Regions from separate parts of the Homo sapiens genome. Here region 1 is linked to region 2. Evidence: promoter capture Hi-C in human tissues and cell types (Jung and others, 2019). All regions are on one chromosome and are shown on one strand. Each heading gives the region's core, a stretch centred on a gene start or on the middle of the fragment in contact. The rest is flanking DNA. Distances are from core to core; before and after follow the strand shown. Region 1 overlaps KIF2A (kinesin family member 2A). Region 2 holds the start of DEPDC1B (DEP domain containing 1B).

Region 1 (5,194 bases), core at 1,485-3,984, 1.7 Mb after region 2:
TAATACAGCTTTTTTTTTTTTTTTTTGGAGACACAGTCTTCTCTGTTGCCCAGGCTGAGGTGGAGTGGCAGGATCTCGGCTCACTACAACCTCCACCTCCAGGGTTCAGGCAATTCTCGTGCCTCAGCCACCTGAGTAGCTGGAATTACAGGCATGCACCACCATGCCCAGCTAGTTTTTATATTTTTAGTAGTGATGGAGTTTTACCATGTTGGCCAGGCTGGTCTTGAACTCCTGACCTCAAGTGATCCACCCACCTTAGCCTCCCAAAGTGCTGGGATTACCCACCATGCCTGGCATCACAACTTCTTTTTTTTTTTGGTCCAGAGATAAAGTCTCACTGTCACCCAGGCTGGTGGGCAGAGGCATAATCTCGGCCCGCTGCAACCTCCACCTCCCAGGTTCAAGTGATTCTCCCACATCAGCCTCCCGAGTAGCTGGGACTACAGGCATGCACCACCACTCCCGGCTAATTTTTATATTTTTAGTAGAAATGGGGTTTCTCCATGTTGGCCAGGCTAGTCTCAAACTCCTGACCTCAGGTGATCTGCCCACCTTAGCCTCCCAAAGTGCTGGGATTATAGGAATGAGCCATCATGCCCGGCCTCCTCACAGCTTCTTAATGTGAACTTAATGCTACTAACAATAGTAGTACCCTCTACAGAATTATTTCCTAAAGTGATGGTTTTCCAAATAACAAAATAAGCAAGTTTCCATTACACTCAGAATTTTAGAAGTAATTATATCTGACAACCATTAAAATTTGTGCAAAGCTAATTTGTTTTTTAAGCTTACCTATCATTTATGCTATGTATAAATTTCTAAAACCCCTGGAGGAAATATTACATAATTTACGTTTTAGTGTTTTACATGACACTAATAATCACTGAAATAAAATACTTTTTATTTCTAGATTGATGAACATAGGATATGTGTGTGTGTAAGAAAACGACCACTCAATAAAAAAGGTATGGCACTTAATGAGCTCTAATAAAAGATTGATTTTATCTTATTTGTAATGTATTTTTATAATAGCAAATCAAATTGGTTTGGAAAAAATGTAAATCATTTCCTTTGATTTGTATGTAACCATTATGCAGATTTCTATGGCTAAACTTGTCAGTTTGTTATTGCTCTGAATCATTGCCATTCCGAGTCTTGCTTCACAGAAATCTTGATTTTGTTTTTACTTTGCTGTTGAAATATTTTGTCTTAGTGAGTTGCATTTTTATGGGATATTATCTTTATATGTACAGAACTTACTACTTGTATCTTAGTTCTTACTACTTAAAATAATTTTGTACATGAACTCAAATGCTGTGAAAATTATTGGGCATTGATTTTCATTTATTCTTTTAGAAACTCAAATGAAAGATCTTGATGTAATCACAATTCCTAGTAAAGATGTTGTGATGGTACATGAACCAAAACAAAAAGTAGATTTAACAAGGTACCTAGAAAACCAAACATTTCGTTTTGATTATGCCTTTGATGACTCAGCTCCTAATGAAATGGTTTACAGGTAGGTAAATTCATTTTAAATCAGAATTTTGTTCTTATGCCATGTGGTCATCAGCACCTTGAAATTTACATTGATTGTGGGATATTTCTTAAGAGGTGCAATATGCTGTTTTATTCTGAGTTTAAACAAAGAGAATGTAATAAATGCTGTAATGAATATTAACACTTGTTCTCTGTAATGCTCCCCAAAATCATAGTTTCCATTACTATTTGCTAATTAGCTTATTACACATATATATACATATATATACATATCACACAAACCATGTATATGGATAAGAAATTTCGGGAAAATGTTAACATTACCTCTAGGAATAGGATATGATAAGAAGACTTTTAATTTTTACCTTTTAATCTCTGTACTAATAAAGAAACTTGAAATGTTTGTTTGAGGCATGGTCTTGCTCTGTTGCCCAGGCTGGAGTGCAGTGGCACGATCACAGCTCACTGCAGCCTCGACCTTCCAGGCTCAGGTGATCCTCCCATCTCAGCCTCCTGAGTAGCTGGGACCACAGGCATGCACCACCACACCCAGCTAATTTTTGTACTTTTTGTAGAGTTGAGGTTTCGCCATGTTGCCCAGGCTAACCTCAGACTCCTGAGCTCAAGTGATCTGCCCGCCTTGGCTTCCCAAAGTGCTGGGATTACAGGCATGAGCCACTGTTATGCCTGGCCAAAATACCTGTTATCAGTTAATTATTAATTTATCTAAATCTGTATTTAGTATGTATTGTCACTTAAGGCGAAAAAGTTCCGTACTTGTATTTAAATTTGTCATCTTTAAGCTTGGAGATAGTTTTAGTACATGAGATTCTTGTATGTTTTCTGTATTCAACTTAAAAATAATTCAAATTTATCTGTGTTATACATTGGTATCTCAAATTTTTATGCCAGATTTAGATTTTCATACGTAAGTTTGCAAACATTCATTTCTAATAATTATAACACCAGTTTTAGCAGTATTGTTATTTTGGTTTATCTAGGAATATTACTGTCTTTGTAATTGCTTGAATACTATATCTGATTGCCCTTTTTCATAAAAATGCCTAGAAAGGAAAAAATTAGAGTTAATGAGACTAAGAATTGAAGGTGTTACAAAGGAAATACTTTTGAGACCAACTCTTTTTGTCTTCACCAAGTGTACTGGGTAGTCAGTTGTAAAAAAAAAAAGGATCAAATTAAAGGACATATGAATACTAGATAGAGATATTTGTGAAGAATATGTTTAAAGGGGAATCATAATTGTTAATTGTAGAATTTTTTTTTAGCTTTCTGAAGAGTCCACTTTTCCTTTTCATTCCCTCTTTCTACTCCTGCCTCATAAAATATAAGTTTGACTTTTATAATAGTTTTTAAGAAATTATTACAAATACAGGCATGTTTCTGTGTGTATGATTTAGTAAACATTGTGTTTTTACCCTATGTTTATGTTTCTTAACTTTATCAATATTTATCCTTCTCCTCTATCTCTTATACTTAACTATTATGGATTGAGGAGTTACATGTTTTTTTGTGGGTAGGGTTGGGAGGTAGGGGTTTGATCTACTTAGCAGGCTCATCCCTAGTTCTGTTTGACCAGAACTTTTTCCTGCTCCTTTTGTTCTGTACTTTCTTCAGTTTTGCCTTTTACAAAACAAAACAAAGACAGCAGTTATATAAAATGTTCTACTTGTAGATCTGTTTTCCATCTTTTTTTTTTTTTGTTTTTTTGAGGCTGAGTTTTGCTCTTGTCGCCCAGGCTGGAGTGCAGTGGCATGATCTCGGCTCACTGCAACCTCTGCCTCCCAGTTCAAGCGATTCTCCTGCCTCAGCCTCCTGAGTAGCTGGGATTACAGGCGTGTGCCACCACGTTCAGCTAATTTTGTATTTTTAGTAGAGACGGGGTTTCACCATGTTGGTCAGGCCGGTCTCGAACTCCTGACCTCAAGTGATCCACCCACCTCAGCCTCCCAAAGTGTTGGGATTACAGGCATGAGCCACCACGCCTGGCCTCCATCATACTTTTTAGTGTACTGCTCAGGGGAAAAGTACTTCTTATACCTTCCCACCTTTTTATTTTAACTCTAGCAGTGGGTTATACCAATACATTTGAAATATAATTCAAGGCCGGGTGCGGTGGCTCATGCCTGTAATCCCAGCACTTTGGGAGGCCAAGGCGGGCAGATCGCCTGTGGTCAGGAGTTTGAGACCAGCCTGACCAACGTGGTGAAACCACGTCTCTACTAAAAATACAGAAATTAGCTGGGTGTGGTGGCAGGTGCCTGTAATCCCAGCTACTCGGGAGGCTGAGGCAGGAGAATCACTTGAACCCGGGAGGCGGAGGTTGCAGTGAGCTGAGATCGCGCCATTTGCACTCCAGCCTGGGGGACGAGAACGAGACTTCGTCTCAAAAAAAAAAAAATGTAATTCAAACCATAATATTTAGGTATCCTTTTCCTAAATTGAGAGTGTCAACTTACTAATAGAATTCATTTTCCTACAAGCACAATTTATATTCTTTTTGCTTAAGTATAAATTACTTGTCTAAATTCAAGGTAATCAACATTTTTCTATTTATTTAGATGGTCTATAGATAATATTTTTGCAGTTTTTTTCCTCTATTAACTTTTTAAAATTGAGATTACCACTCTTGTTTATTCTGTTTCTGTTGAAATTATAATACTTTGTGTTTGTTTTTATTGTATATGCCTTATTGTGACCATTATTTATTATGGAAATATTGCTTGAAATTATGCTTTAAGTAGTTTAAGTAATTTTAGCATATGATATTTAAAATTCTTAAATCAATTCTTCGATATTGTTATTTAAAATTTTTAACAAAGATTTGTTTAGAATCTTGCTATTAAGTTTTATTTATTAATAAAATACTTTGTATTACTCAGCATTACTATTATTCATCAAAATATTGGTGACACATTCTGACTGATGCATTTTATTTTTAAGGTTTACTGCTAGACCACTAGTGGAAACTATATTTGAAAGGGGAATGGCTACATGCTTTGCTTATGGGCAGACTGGAAGTGGAAAAACTCATGTAAGTAATTTATTAAAGTTACATTCTGGTACGAAGCTACAGTTTCTTTTCCTTATAGCTTAATTCTGTGAACTAAATTCTTAAGAGTTATTCCTGAGTAATGTCTGTTCTTTATTTTCTTTTTAAAATATAGACTATGGGTGGTGACTTTTCAGGAAAGAACCAAGATTGTTCTAAAGGAATTTATGCATTAGCAGGTAACTGTCCTTTTTCCATAAAATTTGGAATATTCTTCTGTGGTATTATTCAGGTAACTTTGAAATAAGGCTTTAAAATATTGTTCAGCAACTATAATGCTATATTAACTGTCTATTATGTCAATTATAGGTTATTAGATTGCTTGAAAAGAACTATAAGATTATATATTCACAATAATTTTTTTTTTTTTTAAGAAGACAAGAACTGTAGGCTGGGTGTGGTGGTTCATGCCTGTAATCCCTGCACTTTGGGAGGCCAAGGTGGGTGGATCACTTGAGGTCAGGAGTTCGAGACCAGCCTGGCCAACATGGTGAAACTCCATCTCTACTAAAAATACAAAAAAAAACTTAGCCAGGCGTGGTGGCGGGCGCCTGTAATCCCAGCTACTCAGGAGGCTGAGGCAGAATTGTTTGATCATTTGAACCCAGGAAGCAGAGGTTG
Region 2 (5,236 bases), core at 164-2,663:
CCTCCCAGGTTCAAGAGATTCTCCTGCCTCAGCCTCCTGAGTAGCTGAGACTATAGGCGCATGCCACCATGCCCAGCTAATTTTTGTATTTTTAGTACAGACGGGGTTTTGCTGTGTTGGCCAGGCTGGTCTCGAACTCCTGACCTCAAGCGATCCATCCCCTTAAATCATGTAAAATTTCATGAGTATGTGCCATGTGCAGTTTTCTGTGAAGAAGATCCTTAATCTTCATCAGATTCTCAAAGCGATCTATGAGCCAAATTTAAAAAGTAAAGACCCATCAGCCCCAACTATGATTTCTCTTCCAGAAGCTGGCCTTCTCAGCTCTGGCTTGACTTACTGGTATAGTGTGTGGCTGGCTTTGGAAAGAAAAGGAAACTCTATTTACATTATCTGTATCCCAGCATCCTCACCTCTTCCATGAGTCTAGCTGAGTAAGAGTTTGGATGTTAGTTCCCATCTTTTCCTGTGTATTCATTATAATGCATGGAACTATGAGAGTAATTCCCATGTTAAATGTGGCCAGAGAGGTCGGCAGACCAAGGAGCAAGTTACTGTCCTCCCAAATTACCATTACACTTCCACAGAAAGTCCTCTAAAAACTTGCCACAGACATTACCAAACTGTCACCCTTTATTGTTCCAAGTCAAAGCAGACCAAGTACACCTCAATACCAAAGCTTTTCTCCCAGAAAAAAAAAAAAAAAAAAACAGGAACTCAGAGTCGGCAAAGACTCTCCTAAAACATCTGTCCTGGCCAGCTCTTCATCTGGATCGGTGCTGACAGAAACAGAAACGCCAGGGGCCGGAAATGCGGCCAGCGCGATGCCCCTCTGTTCTGGGCACCGTTTATTCGAATACCCCGTCAGGTATCATCAGGTGTCACTCAGGAAGGAGACACGCCCTGCCTGGACTGCCGCGAACGCTGAGCGTTACGGGGTACGTGGTGGCCCCTCAGGTTACCGACCGGGTCGGTTAGATTCCAGAGGACAAAAGGCAGGGAACAGCCTGGTCTTGGGGTCTTTAAACAGAGAGGCGCCATCTACTGCCGAGAACCCAGTCAACATCTCATGGACAAAGCTGCACTAACCCCCGGCCGGCTGAGCTCTGGGCCCCGTTAGCCTTTCTTTGAGGCTCGTCCACTAAAAGGCAGCCCCAGTAGTCCCAGCTGAAATGCTCCACACCCGAGCCCCGCTGGCCTGCGGAAGCGAAGACTGACAAGCACTCTGTCCGCGCGCTGAGTGGGGGCTCGCGGCACCGGGTGCTCCGCCCAGGCCCCAGCACACTCACTCACCAGCCTGGTAGCTCGGTACGGCCCGGGCCCCACGATGCGATGCTCCATGGCGCGTAGGCAGCAGCGGCCGCAGCCGCGCCAGCGCTGATCCCCGCCAGCCGGAGGAGCAGCAGTTTGAATCCCAAGCCCGCGGGCTGCGGGCGCTGATTGGGCGGCGCGGCAGCACGTCACCGGAAATGCGCGGGGAGGCAGGCGTCTTCTCCGAGACCCGCGGCGCTGGGAGCTCCGCGTGCGAACTTGCCCGGGGCGAAATCTGTTGCCCACCCTGGTCCCACCGTGCGAGCACACCTAGGCAGGTGCGACTAAGGGGCCGGGGGCGTCTCCCCAGCGCTGGAAAACGCTGTGCAGCGCCCTTCCCAGATTTCTGCGTCCGCGCAACACAAACACACGCAACGCTATCTCTACAAAAGGGTCAATAATAGGTGTTATCCAGCGACCGAAACCCAGCTTTGGGCCGCGTGGATAAATACCTGTCCTCCCTACCAAGTGCACTGTGAGCCTGGAGGTGCTGCTAACGCTGGGAGAAGCGGTAGTGAAATGAAGCGAGGCGACAGCTTTTACCAGTGTAGGGACATTTAAAAACGGGATAGAGAGCACAAGGAGCGTAGACAGTGTGTTAAGGGCAATAAAGAGCGGGAAGGGAGCCCCGATTCCTCTTCTGTTTGTTCTCATGATAGTCTTTTCCCCTTTAATTTGAGTTCTATGTTTTGTATTGGGCTGATACTTTTAGTCCTCGGCAATAGGGTTGTGAGTCCTTTTTTGACTGCTTAGAATTTTCCCCCTGGGAATTGCTAGTCCGATTTGCAATCTTTCAGAGGGACAAATGAAGTAACTCCATATACTTAGGACTCTGTACACCTACTCAAATTTGGTCATCTCGGTAAGTACCCAGGACAAGACGTTGAAGGAGTGAAGGTGTGCCATTCCAAAATATGCCTAATTGGTATATTGATTATTTCGAGCGGAAAACATTGGAGAAATGGTAGTTTCAGAAAGGGCAAGCTGACCTGCCTCTTCGATGCAGCAGGCCACAAAGATTTCTCTGGGATGGGCATCCTCTCCCTACCACGGTGAGAAAATAGCCTTTATCACCAAAGGCTTGGAATTGAAGGCTGCAGTGGACCTGAATAAACATTCTTAACGAAGTAACCCTATCTTCCACTAGGAGATATAGGAGATTTTTTACATATATCTTCTAGTGACTCCCTAGAAAATGTTACTGCCTTTGTGAGCTGTGGAAGTTAACTCGAGTCACAGGGCACCAAAATATGTTAGCAGCTGCCCATATCCGAGACACGGCCCCAAAGTATGTTACAGGCAGTGAATTCCTACAGATCTGCAGCAACCTCAATTCTTGACTCCTCAGAAGAAAGAGTTCGACTGAGGGGCATAAGGCAAAAGGAGAGACCAAGGCAAGTATTAGAACAGAAGTGAAGTTTATTAAAAAGCTTTGAATGAAAGGAAGTACACTTGGAAGAGGGCCAAGCCAGTGACTTGAGAGATCTAGTGCGTAGTTTGACCTTTTGACCTGGGGTTTTATACGTTGGCATACTTCTGGGGTCTTGCTTTTGGGGCTTTGCATTACTTCTCTCCTGATTCTTCCCTTAGAGTGAGCTGTCCACAGGCGCATACTTGAGCCCACTTGCCCAACTCCTAAGATCTTATCGGGAAGCTGCTGATCAACAGTTCAAGTGTTTTCTATTAGGAGACTGCCTTTCCCTGGTGCCGGCTGTGACCAACTATTATTTTAGAGAGACAATTAACAACCACCTGACCATCACCTGATGGCTGCCTGACATTCCTGATGTGTGTGTGTATGAGGGGGAGCCCTCTCCTGCCCTGCTCATGCCTGACTAGCTACCTACTGTAACACCTTAACCAGATTTTCTTTGTCATGGCTTTTCTTCTCAAATTTATCTCTCTTTACCTAAAAAAATGAATAAAAGCATCTTACTTTGGCCACTTCTTCAGACTTCACTCTCTTGTGAAGATCCCCATGTGCACATAAAACTAATAAAATGTGTATACTTTTCTCCTGGTAATCTTCCTGGTGTCAGTGTGGTTTCTAGATACAACTGGAGAGCTCATTAAGAGGTAAAAGGGAGCTTGGAGGTGATCTCTGGCTCCCCTATAACATCATAAGAAAGATCTAAGTAAGGGATTGGACCACCTCTTCTCATCCTCAAAACCACACCACTACCACCACCCATTTGCTGCCTTAGGTTTTTATTTAGCCCAAGAAATGTCCTGAGATGATACATATATATTGCTTTTGTAATTAGAAAAAGCAATTTAAAATTTTTTTCTTACTTCCAGTAAGTGAATCCTTATCAGAACTTTTTTTCTTTTAACCTCTAAGCTCCATGGAAGAGATCTTCTTGTCCTTGGCAAGGAATATAAAGAGATACTTGTGTCCTTGACACAAGAAGCAGGAGAAAGGGAATTTTAAAGCCTTGTCTGAGACCTGCCACCACCTATCATGGTGGTGAAACTAGAATCTGATACAAAACATTATGTCCAGCATTATGCAGCTTTCTAGTTCGGTAAGTATCACAGACTGTGAAATTCCATAGATCTGGATTTCAATAATGACTGGTACTGCTTACCAGTGGAGTGACTTCAAGCTAATTATTTAATTTCCATCTACTCACTGGTAAACTGGGAATATTAATGATTATCTTGCAGAGTTGTAAGGATGTATGTAAAGTGCTAAATATAGTGCCCAGCATGTATTTAAAGTGCCCAGCATATAGCAGTAATAAAAAGAACTATATATTTTTTTAAAAAAATCATGCCAGCTTCTTGAGCATTTCCCAAGAGCCTGTTATTAGCCATAGACAAGATGGCTGTTACTAGAAAGGCATACTTCCAAAGGATCTACATATCAGAAGACACAAAGAGTCATTGCACGGGCCAGGGACATCTCCCCAACGCTGGACAATGCTGTGCAGCACCCTTCCCAGACTTCTGCACTCACGCAACACAAACACACACACTATTTCTCTACAAAAGGGTCAATAAAATGGTGTCATCCAGCGATGCCTCATGCCTATAATCCCAGTACTTTGGGAGACCAAGGCAGGTGGATCACTTGAGCCCAGGAGTTCAAGACCAGCCTGGGCAACATGGCAAAACACTGTCTCTACTAAAAATACAAAAATTATCTGGCTGTGGTGGCACGCTCCTGTAGTCCCAGCTACTCAGGAGGCTGAGGTGGGAGAATCGCTTGAACCTGGGAGGTGGAAGTTGCAGTGAGCCAAGATCGCCCCACTACACTCCAGCCTGGGTGACAGAGTGAGATCTTGTCTCTAAATAAATAAATAAATGCCTCAAAGAAATCGAGGTTTTACATTTGTTCATTCACTTATTCAGCAAGTATGTAAGAATACACTACTGTGTGTCAGGTATAATTCCAGTCTGAAATCATGCAATAGATAAAATGCAGCTTCTAGGAGCTGACTCCTAAGTAGAGGAAGGGATGACAAGCCAGCTATAATACATTCAAATATGTATTATATATCAGGTGGTGATTGAGTACTGGGAAGAAAAGTAAAAGACTAAAGTGGAGAGGGTGGTAGGGGGAAGTTGCTGTTTTGGTTCAGGTGGTCAGAGAAGGCATCTTTGATGAAATGACATCTGTGTAGACGATCTGAGTAAAGTAAGGGGTAGTTGTCTGGGGAAGAGCTTCTAAGCCGAAAGAATGAGCAGCCCATGAGAAACTTCCAGGAGACATGGGAAGGAGGTTGGTGCTGACTAAAGTGAGGGAGTAAAAGGGGCAGTGGAGGAGATGGAGTTGAATACAGAGTGGAGTGGGGCTTTCAGACCACATTATGGGCCATGGGATTCTGATCCTCTTCTGAATTAGTGAAAATATATTAGAAAGTTTTGATCAGCAGAGTGATCAAAACAGATCACAATCACTCTATTGATCTTTGGCCAATCA

Evidence for each region. Contacts are between HindIII fragments. The study calls those that stand out against the background at their distance.
Region 1: a contact is called between a fragment that was not itself captured here and the fragment with the promoter of DEPDC1B in region 2, in 1 of the 25 tissues and cell types used here (hippocampus).

What each region holds. Positions count from the first base shown.
Region 1 is chr5:62,356,778-62,361,971 of GRCh38, forward strand. KIF2A (kinesin family member 2A) reads left to right here. Exons shown (of 21, transcript NM_001098511.3): 8 at 914-968; 9 at 1,360-1,522; 10 at 4,465-4,555; 11 at 4,689-4,752. Among named protein-coding and RNA genes, the nearest start is that of DIMT1, 45 kb to the right of the region's middle. The HindIII fragment of the contact is 5,869 bases long and covers 1-5,194 here.
Region 2 is chr5:60,698,753-60,703,988 of GRCh38, forward strand. It overlaps DEPDC1B (DEP domain containing 1B), which reads right to left and starts at 1,414. Exons shown (of 11, transcript NM_018369.3): 1 at 1,294-1,414. The coding sequence starts at 1,341. LOC124900982 (a long non-coding RNA gene) reads left to right here and starts at 1,488. Exons shown (of 2, transcript XR_007058779.1): 1 at 1,488-1,589; 2 at 2,902-3,335. The HindIII fragment of the contact is 4,370 bases long and covers 1-4,103 here.